Linked DNA regions of Homo sapiens: region 2 is linked to region 1. The links are contacts of gene promoters, found by promoter capture Hi-C in blood cells and fetal thymus (Javierre and others, 2016). All regions are on one chromosome and are shown on one strand. The core of a region is centred on a gene start or on the middle of the fragment in contact, and the rest is flanking DNA. Distances in the headings are between cores, read along the strand shown.

Evidence for each region. The method cuts DNA at HindIII sites, captures the fragments that hold promoters and counts their contacts. A CHiCAGO score of 5 or more calls a contact.
Region 2: a fragment that was not itself captured here is called in contact with the fragment with the promoter of RASGRF2 in region 1 in 3 of 17 cell types (non-activated CD4 T cells, activated CD4 T cells and naive CD4 T cells); the score reaches 7.6 in non-activated CD4 T cells.

What each region holds. Positions count from the first base shown.
Region 1 is chr5:80,956,777-80,962,012 of GRCh38, forward strand. RASGRF2 (Ras protein specific guanine nucleotide releasing factor 2) reads left to right here and starts at 3,587. Exons shown (of 27, transcript NM_006909.3): 1 at 3,587-4,250. The coding sequence starts at 3,963. It overlaps RASGRF2-AS1 (RASGRF2 antisense RNA 1), which reads right to left and starts at 4,131. Exons shown (of 4, transcript NR_105015.1): 1 at 4,005-4,131. RefSeq lists enhancers at 79-599, 3,690-4,411. The HindIII fragment of the contact is 16,452 bases long and covers 332-5,236 here.
Region 2 is chr5:81,044,775-81,050,472 of GRCh38, forward strand. The region is part of intron 2 of RASGRF2 (Ras protein specific guanine nucleotide releasing factor 2); the gene reads left to right. Among named protein-coding and RNA genes, the nearest start is that of RASGRF2-AS1, 87 kb to the left of the region's middle. The HindIII fragment of the contact is 628 bases long and covers 1,025-1,652 here.

The DNA.
Region 1 (5,236 bases), core at 2,337-4,836:
AAACTTCAAAGCTTTAGACAATTCAGATAAAATTTCCCCTCCCACCTTTCCTTCCTCCCTCCTTCCGTCCTTTCTTTCCTCTTTCCCTCCTTCCCTCCCTTCCTTCCTTTTCTCATCAAATTATCTGAATAATGTCTCCCTCTCTATTTAGTAGAGTTTCCAGGTATGACAGCTCATTGCTATTTTTCCCCTCTTAACTTATCTAGAAAAGGGGAAAGAGGCCACTTGCACTGTGATCATATGCTTTGTTGCCCATAAAAAATTTTTTTAAACTGGCCCGCTCAAGAAAGAATCCACGCAATGCAAGAAGGAAAAACAATGAATTCAGAGAAGCTTGTTCCCATCCACTTGGAACGCAGTCTCTTTTTGGCAATCTATTTGATCAGCTGGGGGAAAGCATTCTTATTTACATAAACTCCTGATCCTTTGTGTTTCAGGATGGCACCATTCCAGGGATGTGGTTTCCATATGAATGGAGACTAAAGGCCCCCAGGTGCCCATCAGACACCTAATAGAGATAGCTTCTCTAGGCTGTCCAGGAATGTCTGGTTGTTTTCATCTCTTACAATCTTGCAGAATGATCTAATATTTGCAAATGCTTATGCCCTCTTTAACAATTCAATGACCAAATAAGAAATTAATTTAGAAAATAATTGTCTGAAAAACTTGTATGCCTACTGCATATAAACTCTCCTACTGGGTGCTACAGGGATTACAGAGATAGCTCGGCACTTGAGAAACAGACAGGTGAGAAGAAGCACCTAAACATTAATCTTCTTCCTGGCTGGGTGGTGTCGTACTTACAATCCCAGGACTTTGGGAGGCCAAGGCAGGAGGGTTACTTGAGACCAGGAGTTTGAGACCAGCCTGGGTAACATGGTGAGACCTCTGTCTCTACAAAAAGTAAACAAAACCTAACCAGGTGTGGTAGTGCACACCCATAGTCTTAGCTACGCTGGAGGCTGAGGCAGGAGGATTGCTGGAGCCCAGGAGTTTGAGGCTGCAGTGAGCTATGACTTCAGCCTGGGCAACAGAGGAAGAACCTCTCTCTAAAGAAAAAAAGAAAGAAAGAGAGAGAGAAAGAGACAGAGAGAGAGAGAGAGAGAGAGAGAGAGAGAGAGAGGGAGGGAGGAAGGGAAAGAAAAGAAGAAAGAAAGAAATTCTCTTCCTCTTACACTGAGCACACCAGGAACACAGGCAATGCTTTTTCTCTATATGCTCTACATCACCTAAATATAGTGTTGAGGACATAAACTAGTGATCAATAAATGGTTCTTGCAGTGAATTTCCATAATCAAAACCCACGGTAATCACCAGCCAAATTTTGCAGGAAACAAGCACTCCTTTCTCTCATTGTCCAGGGGCAGAGCAGATGGGGTGGCATATAAGGGCCACATAACCTTCCGTGGTAGGAAGTGATGTCAGACAAGAGGTTGTGAATATTTCATGTGGTTCAAATGAAAAGCACATTTAAGGAGACAGAGATGGTAACTGAGACATTGCTTATTGAAGAAGAGAATCTTTCACATCTGAAAAAACTCAAGTGCGTTAGAAGGTTTGACTACTCATGGCAAAATAGTTTTTGTGCTGATTTCACACTCTTACTGGTTTCTACTAAAAAAATGGAGCTTATCAACCACACAGGTGTCTACTCACTTACGGTTCTCACAGCTGGGATTGGACCACAGAGAAAGAAATAAAAGGCCTCCTGAGGCAATCACCAGCTCCTCTGCATCTAGAATCTGGCTCCAAAATGTTGCCTGCATTTACTTACTGTCTCTGTACTTGTGTCTTCTCTGAAGAACAATGCAAACTTCCAGCTGGGTTAAACCCAATTTAGCACAGCACTGTCCTTTAGATATTTTTAAAAACGTAAAGAGAAATGACCACTGTTCTCACGCTGTAATTTCAAAATGGCAATTTCCCTACTATATACTTGTTAAAAGTGAAAATTTTTTAAAAAGGTAAAAGGAAAAAAAAACCCCACTCAGCTGCTCAGTGAGGCAGAGTTAAAATATTCTGCAGAAACAGCACTTATGAAACAGGCAGAACCCCTGGGGCTACCAATTCATGAACACACAACTGGCAGTACAAGACAGGTGTATTGTCGTAGACTCATCACCCAGAAAAGCATTATTATTTACTTTTAACAATAAACATTTTATGATGGCACTCCGTTTTAGTGATAAATGACTGGGGAAAATAAAAAATGTGTATAGCAGAATCAAATATAGGCCCTCCCCGGGGGTTTCACTGGCTTTCTCTCACAGCTGCTGGCTACATTATTTCTTTTCCACTTACATTTTTACAGCATGGGGTTGGGGCGGGGGGGTGGCTCTTGGTTTTCTGGTTGTACCTGTCAGATTTGTTAATCAAATGAATCCAGTCCTACAAACGATGAGCCTGTGACAGCTGGCCTTTGGGGTTGGATTCTGCCCTGGGCAGCAAAGTGTCCCTTATTTGGGTATTTTTTTCCAGGTTGAAAACTCGGCACTTAAAATTTAGCATCTTACCACTGTGAAATAACAGGCATTCCGAAAGAACTTCGGCATCTGATGCCTTTCCGGGAACACTTGGGCCACTCTCCTTAACCTTTACCGGCAGTTTTAAATACTACAATGCAGGTACAAGCAGAAAAGCCAAGGATGCGGGCTATGCAAAGCCACTCTGTGACTCTACCTACTGCCATGGGAACGTACTTATGGATGTGGCATGTGAGTGTGTGTGTATGTGTGAGTGGGTTTGTGAAAGTGTGTGGATTCGTGCGAATACGTGTGTGAGTGCTTTGTGTGTATTTTTGGATGAATTTGTGAATGTACATGTGTGTTCATCTGTGTGTGTGTTTGATTATCTGCTTATGAGTCTGTATGATTGTGAACGTGTGAGTATATGTGTGCTGTTTGTGTGACTGTATGAGTGTAATGTGTGTATGAATGTATGTTTGAATGTGGGTTTGAGTGAATGTGTGGGTTGTGTGTGAATGTGTGTGTAAGTGAGCATATCACTGCGTGCATGTGTGTAGCTCCTTAAGTGTGTATCTGAATGTGGGTTTTATTTTTGTGCGCGGGAACGCACATTGTGGGTGTATTTGTCTATATGCATTTGTGCGTTGTGACTGTGTGTTGAGTGTGAGCGTTGTGAGAATGTGTATTTGTGTGTCATGAGTGTGTGCGCGTGTGTTTTTGTGCATATGTGCGCGCATTGTGTTTGTGTGCATTTGTGAGTGTATTTTTGTGCGTCTGAGTGTGTGCATTGTGGATCTGGGTGAATGTACTGGTCTGCGTGTGTGTGGGTGTGCGTGTGTGTGTGCGCGCGTTGTGCGCGAGTGTGCGAGCGCGTGTGAGCGGGTGTGTGGTGCGGCCGGGCGCCTCCACCTCCCTGATCCGCCCCATCCCGGCGGGCGCCCGAGCAGAGGCAGCGGCCCGGGCCGGGGCGGGCGAGGGAGGGACGCGAGCCGGGGCAAGCGGGCTGCGCCACCGCCGGCGCCGCGCCGACTTTGCCCTTTAAATCGGTCTCCAAGCCGATTACAGCTGAGCTCCCACGTGACGTTTTACCTTCTGTCTCCCGGAGCGCGTTGCCCGAGGACAGTCCTTCCCCGGCTGCCGCCCCAGCCCGCCGCGGGGGCTCGGCTCCCGCAACTTTGGGCGAAGCGGCGGCCGGCTCGGGCGCCCTCGCGGGGCCGCGCTCCACGCGGGCGTTGGGGGCTTGGGGGGCTCCGGGGGCTCGGCCGGGAGGGTGGTGGTTAGGGCGGAGAGCGTGCCTCGGCCCCAGCCCGCGCCCCTGCCACCGCGCGCCGCGGCCTCCCGAAAGCGGGCGGGGTGCCCTGCGCGCGGCGTGGGGAAAGGGGGCGCCCTTCGCCGGCCGGGACCTGAGCGGTCGCGCCCTCGAGGGAGCCAGCTGGGCCATGGCCGCGAGGCAGGGGTGAGACCGGCGGCCACCCGTGAGCCCTCCGCACCCGCACCATGCAGAAGAGCGTGCGCTACAACGAGGGGCACGCCCTGTACCTGGCCTTTCTGGCGCGCAAGGAGGGCACCAAGCGCGGCTTCCTGAGTAAGAAGACGGCCGAGGCGAGCCGCTGGCACGAGAAGTGGTTCGCCCTCTACCAGAATGTGCTCTTCTACTTCGAGGGCGAGCAGAGCTGCCGCCCGGCGGGCATGTACCTCCTGGAGGGCTGCAGCTGCGAACGAACGCCCGCGCCACCCAGGGCCGGCGCCGGGCAGGGAGGCGTCCGAGACGCGCTGGACAAGCAGGTACCGCGCGCCTTCTCTCCGCGGTCTCCCAGCCTTGATCGCCGCACTCCCTTGCCGTCCTAATCCGGGGATCAGGGGTCGGGGGTCGTGAAAGAGTGCGGGGACTATGCTCCGAAATCCCCCCGCGTCACCAGTGGCGGGACATCTCCACGCTCCTTCCGATCTTCATCCAGGGATTCTCCCATCTCCATACCCCTCCACCCCACTGCCAAGTGATCAGTCAGAATAGTGGCCCGACTTGCTTTCATTACCCTGGTAGAGGTCGAGTCGTTTCAGCTTCTCTGCCAACCATCTATTGCTTCTCTAGACCTGGCTCGCCAGATTTTTGTCTGGTGACATGTATTGACACCTGTTGGGTGTAGATTGGCAAGACGGAACTAACTTATTTGGAAAAGTTTGATTTCTGCCATACCCGGCTGGCGCGTGTAGATTTCTTTGCCTGCAGATGTTTGACCACTGGTTGGGCTGGGAACAAGCGGGGCTCCCAAGCCGGACAGACACTTTCTGTTGGTCATTTTCAATCAGTCTTTGTGATTTCGGTCAGTTGGCCTTGCTAACATTTGACCTGCTGGGTGTAATTATGAAGGTAAATGTGTATTCATATTCCTCAGGATTAATATTTGGTAGCCACATTCTTGCTATGTTTAAAAATGTGGGCATTTTTAAAGAACGCTTCTGTACTTTTAAATGAATGCTTTGAAAATGAATGCGACCTTTTAATTCTGGGTCATAATTTTATTAGTTTTGCTGTGTGCTCATGGTCGCGGGGTGGGGGAGAAAAACCCTTTAAGTCTTAGTGATCCCAGCCCCTCATTCCTGCAAACACAAAGTTTGTATGTTTCCAATCACCGTTTGGTTATTAAAGTTAAAGCAGACTAATTTTATGCCCCTAATGTTCTCATTTAGCTTCTCAATCCCCACCTTGATATGAAAAAGGCTGATTGTTTTTGCTGTTGCGTAAAAATATTCGCAGCTGAATTTTCCAT
Region 2 (5,698 bases), core at 89-2,588, 86 kb after region 1:
TTAGCTAATGTTCAATATTGTACTTATCTTCGTTATCCTCTTTATCACTACAGTCTTTTCTTGTTCTATTTTTTTTTTCTTTTCCTCATTCAAAGACGAAAGTAGATTAATGTGAGACTAGGGTTGAGAGTAGAAGATGTTATTTGCAAAATATTTCAGTTCCTTTTCTTTCTCTGAGATGCATGGGGCTGGCAACTAAGTGCCACTCTCCATGTGGACCCCAGGAGAGCTTGCCACGAGTCATCATGACCCCGGCACATGGTTCAGCCGTCCTTGCTCTTGGTGCTCTCTGTTTGAGGGTTTTGATCCAGACTTAGGACTAATGCAGAATGACTTGCTGTAGAAAGAAAGTCAGGCCTTCAAAGATGAAAGAAGCATCAAGCTGGCAAGGTAGAGCCCTTGGGTCATTTCCAGACACAATCTTTTCCTTTCTACAATCTCTATTCCTTTCTACCTAGGAGTTAAAATACATAATTTAAAACATGCCTGTTTTCCTATCTTTTTCATTCCAGGAGAGCAGGCACCATCAGTAGCCCAAATGCCTTTGTAGTTGTCAAGCAAATATCTTGGTGAACCAAACACAAATAATGCAAATTGCTTTAAAGATGATTAGATTCCAAGTAAGAAATCTTTTTTTCTGTCCCAGGAATGCATTTTATCATCTACAGGAAACTGAGTCAGTAATTATTTGGTGGTGTTTGACATACAGTCAAAACCAGGGCATGTGTGATGTTGTCAGGAGACAGACTTTAGAAACCACTTAAGTGGTTTAGATGATACAATGGTGAAAATTCTTTTCTTTTTAGATTTGAAGATTTGGTTAATAATTGACTTTTTCCCTTGATGTTTTGACTTTTTGGTCCATTAGGTTTGCTTTTCCCTTGACTTGAGACCTAGGACTGGGTTCTTTGATAATTTCTTTTAATCTGACTGCTTTATACTGTGTTTTTATATTTTCTGTTTTGCATTGAGATATTTCTTAAATTTTTGTTTTCTAAATCAGGGAAGAAAACTTTTTTATCTAAGCTTGATTAAGTTGAGTTTTTGGTTTAAACTTGGATCTGCAAAATTCACCTTGATTTTGTTCATGTATGAACAAAGCCAGAAAGTTAATGAAGCTGATTCAGAGCAAGAATTATCAGCCATTTTTGCTTGGCATTGTAATAAAACACAATTAATTAATTATGGTTGGTTGACTTAACATTTCACCCTCGAAAGACAGTCTGATGGCATTAATTCAGTACTGCTGCCTTTCTAATATAAAAGTTTTAAATACTCAATATTTATGGTTTTATTGATCCTTTTTTAAAAAATCAAAACTTTTGATTAGTTTAGCATGAGATGTTCTTTTCTGAGCTACAAATCCTCCTGTAGATGCCACTTAGATACAAAGACTGCTCAGAACCCCTTCTCTCATTTACTTTTGTTTTCCTGGGATGGCTTTTCAGTACCAGCCTGGGTGTGCTGTCTTTGTGTGCTATGAACATCACATTGTTCTGTTGGCTTTCGTATCTCAGAGCAGAATCTACTTGCCCCACTTTGCCTTCAGAGAATCTTAGGGTCATTTTCTGGGATGTCCCATTGCATGTTTTCTCCTTTAGATCTGGCCCAGAAAAAAAAAATCGTTTTGGAATTAACATTTTTCATTTTGAAGCTTTGACCAGTCCAAGAAGCTCATTTTAATGTTTTGCTTACCATTGGCCAATACTGCATTTCTAGAACACGGGCACATTTAGGATATCATTTTACCACATGTTATGGCACTAGTTCAGGGGACGCTGCTACCGAGACCCAGTCTTGTTTTTGTCTGGTTGAGTTGAGGCCAGAGCCTTTTCATAGTAGTTAAGTCTATGCTTATTTTATGTGGTTGCTACTTGAGTATGGAACTCTGGACATAAAAAATAACCTGATATTTCTTCTTTGTTTTCTTGTCCATAAGTGTCCATCATGGTTGATTTAGTTGTAGACACTAGGACAATCAAAAACTGACCTGGTTGATTGTGAGTCCTTAGGGCTTGTTAGCTGAAAAGACAACTCTTCAATGTTTCATCTGCTAGAACATGGACCAAGCAAAGTATCAGCAGTTAGGAGATAGTCATGGCCTGGACATGGATCCAGTTGTATATCTTCCAAGGGTCTTCCCATCCTTGACTAAGCCTAATACCCACAGGACCTAGACTATGACATTTGGGAAGAAACGAGGAAGGTTCTCCAGAGATGTAGGGGGTAGACTTCAAGGGACTTTGTGACTATCTGGATTTGAGCAGTATTAGACTAGGGTGGCATCTAACACATCTCTCAGGCCCCTAGCTTGGACGGTGTCACTCTTTGGGAGAAGAAATGATGAATGAGGACAGGTTTGTGGGCAAAGATGATGAGCATTGGCCAGGAAATGTTGGGCAATTTCTGCTGGAAATTGGAAGAGTATGATTATCGCTGGGAAAGGAAGGAAACTGTGAGACACTGAATTGATCCCTTGGCGTGTGGGGTATGAGAGAATGAGTATCCAGGGGGCTGATAGAGAAGTAAGGTGTATCCTGAGGAGGGAGGAGAGTTTGGGTTTCTACCAAGGTGGAGGGATTGGGAAAACAGATATTGAGAATGTTGAGCCTAGCACAGAGCACTGTTGAATGTGTGTAGCTTTGCACACCCTGCAGATGGCTTGTGTGTCCTGTGTTTGAAACTGTCCCACTATCTTTTGCCTGCTTTCTGATTTCTTCAGCTGAACCTGCTCAAATCTCCACCTCGATTCTCTTCCCTCCCCTCAGGGTGTATCTTGAGCAGGCAGATCGTAGGTTTTCCTTTAAGGGCAGAGCATACAAAAGGAAAAAAGAATTACAAAAAGGAATATGTTTCCACTCCATAAAGCTCACAGTCAGATGGTGTTTGGCAAGGGCCTGACCTAACCCTTTGTTTCACCCTGTCAGTCTCCAACCTGACGAGCAGAGAGACTTTATCATCCAGTTAAACCTTTCAATTAAGCCTTATTCTCTTTTCCAGTAAAGAAAGCTGTAATGCAGCCTCTTGGATCTGTTTTTAATGTTTAGTCTTTTTGATTACCTGTGTCTGAGACAGCTGTTGTTCATTCTCTCTCTCCCTTAAAATACACACACATGCACACACACACAGTGTGGTAGCTGCACCAAACACCCAGAACCTAATGCTTGTGGTCTCATCCTTGGAAAAAGGCTTAATTTGCAGCAAGGTATATAGTATAAAAATCTGTACAGCACTAAAGGCTGCTGTGTATATCATATCCTCCCCTTAAAATCAGCCCTTTAGAGAATGCACACAGAGAGAAATCCCTCACAAATCAGAGAAGAGTGATGACATAGAAAAGCTGAAAATGTTTCATGTGTCACAGCAACATCACAAGACTAGAAAAATTAGAGATGGACAGTGATGTTATAGCCTAAAGCAATCCAACACCATAGTTTGTATTCTTCCTGTAACAGTAAAACTGTCACTACTTTAAAGATGAAAATGTGGATTTTGTTCATTTAAGGTATTATTATTATTATTTGCTAAGAAATTCTGTCAGGGCTTTGCCTTCATATTTGCCACAATGAAAGATAATTCAACATTTTTTTTCCTTTTACAGCCTACAGAGTGCAACATGAAAGAGAAGGGATACTACTAAACTACTAAACTGTGAAATATTTCACTTGATTTGATGGTTACAATTGTTTTCTATAGGGAAAAGTCGGGCTTGAATTTTCTTATTTTAATACTTTGTTAATACTTTCGTCAGCTGTCTTTCCAACTTCTCAGTGTTTTTGTTTCAAGTGCTTGTCTTGCACATTTAGCATCCAGCTGAAAAGGCAGTCAGACCTTCTGCCTACACTCACCGGGCAGGTGCCCCGTCCTCATGCGCACACCATCTCACCTGCAGGAGGGAGCCATCCTCATGATTCTCTTTGCCTGCTCCAGGAGAACCATCCCCGGTTCAAGACAAATTTCTACTTTGAGCTCTCTCTCTGATTTCTTGCTCCATTACTTATTCCATTTCTCTCTTATATTTCCAGTCTGTTTATTCCTCGCTCCTTACCTTTTTTTCCTGTATTTTTTGGATCTCCTAAAAATCTCTCCTGTCTTGTAAGAGAAATTAAAGCCTTTTCTTGGCACTGAATACTCCTCTAGCTACTGTCTTCTCTTGCACATGCAGCCCGGCTTCTTGAAGAAATGGTTCGGTTGCTCTCCTAGGCACGCAGCTCTTCCTCTCTCCAGCTCTTCCTGGTGGGTTTTGTCCCTACTCTACTATAACTGTTGTCACCTGGGTCAACAATGAATTTCCAAAGCTTTTCTTTCCTTATATAACTTCAACTTTCTGTTCATATTTAATACTTACTTTTGAATTACACCAGTAATACATAAAAGCAAGTTCCCTAAAAAAAAAAAAAAAAAAAAAAATTCAGACAATACAAAAGTAAAGAGTTATAGTTCCACCCCCTCCCCCTTTATTCCCCAAGCCCATTTACTTCCTCAGAAGTATTTACTGGTAACAGTTTGGAGTGCATACTTCCAGATTTTTCTGTATATTTGCATATGGATAGATAGGTAGAATGATATAATTACAGACTTTTTATTTGCTATTCATATTATTCGCCATCTTTTTATGCTAATTTGGAGGGTTTCTTTTAACATTAGTTTATAGGGATCTAAGTCTTATCTCGAAATTTTCATTCCTTTTGTTTACGATGTCTCTCCCTCCTGATTCTCCCTTTACTCCTTTGACAATTTCTTCTTGTCCTATTTCACTACTCCTTGTGTTCTGTCCCTTTCTTTACTGTGGCTGCTATGTAGGGCTTTGCTTTTGCTCTTCCTGTCTCGTCACTTGGATCCATTCCCCAGACTTAGGTCGTGTAGATAGAGCTGCTCTTTCTCAATACTTTCTCTGCTAAATACCATGCTATGTGCATGATATCTCATGAAGTAGCTGGCACTATCCCCAGGAAATCTGAGTATTGGAGAGATGAAATGACCTCCTGAGGGCCACCAGTCTAGTAAACGATAGAGCTGGAATCAAGTCCTGGGCAGGCTGACTCCAAAACCTATGCACTTAACCACAAAGATATATAGCCTCCATTATATGTAGAAATTCACCAACATGTATTTTTCTATATTGAACTATCTATATATCATCTCTCCCTGGGTGCTCAGAATTACTTGATACTAAGCAAGACAAACCCAAACTCATGTATTTCTCTAGGCAGCTTCATGTTCCCTTCCTGGATAGGAATGTAAGGCATACTCTCCTGTACACTCAGTCACTCAAACCAGCAGGATATCATCCCCTGACCCCAGCCTAACTGCTCACTGCAGTCACCACTTGTGGATTCTACCCCAGAACATCACTGGTCTGCGTTTCTCCACATGTCTGCAGCATTGCCCTGGTGCAGGCCATCAACACTGATTGCCTGTCCTATTGCTCTGCCACCTCGCCTGTCTCTTCCAGGTCGGCTTCCTTCCCATCGATTCTCTACAGTTACTAGAGTGCCCTTTCTAAGCAAACATCTGATCTGCTGAAGGAATTCCGGGGTTCCCAGTTGCTTTTAGTTATTATAATTCAATTTACTTCTTATTGTAGAAAATTTTAAATATATACAGAGAAAGAGAGATAACAGTCCTCCATGTTGCTTTAAGAAGAGAAAATATTCATTATTTCACTGATATTTATTGCTTCCCTACCCAATGCTAG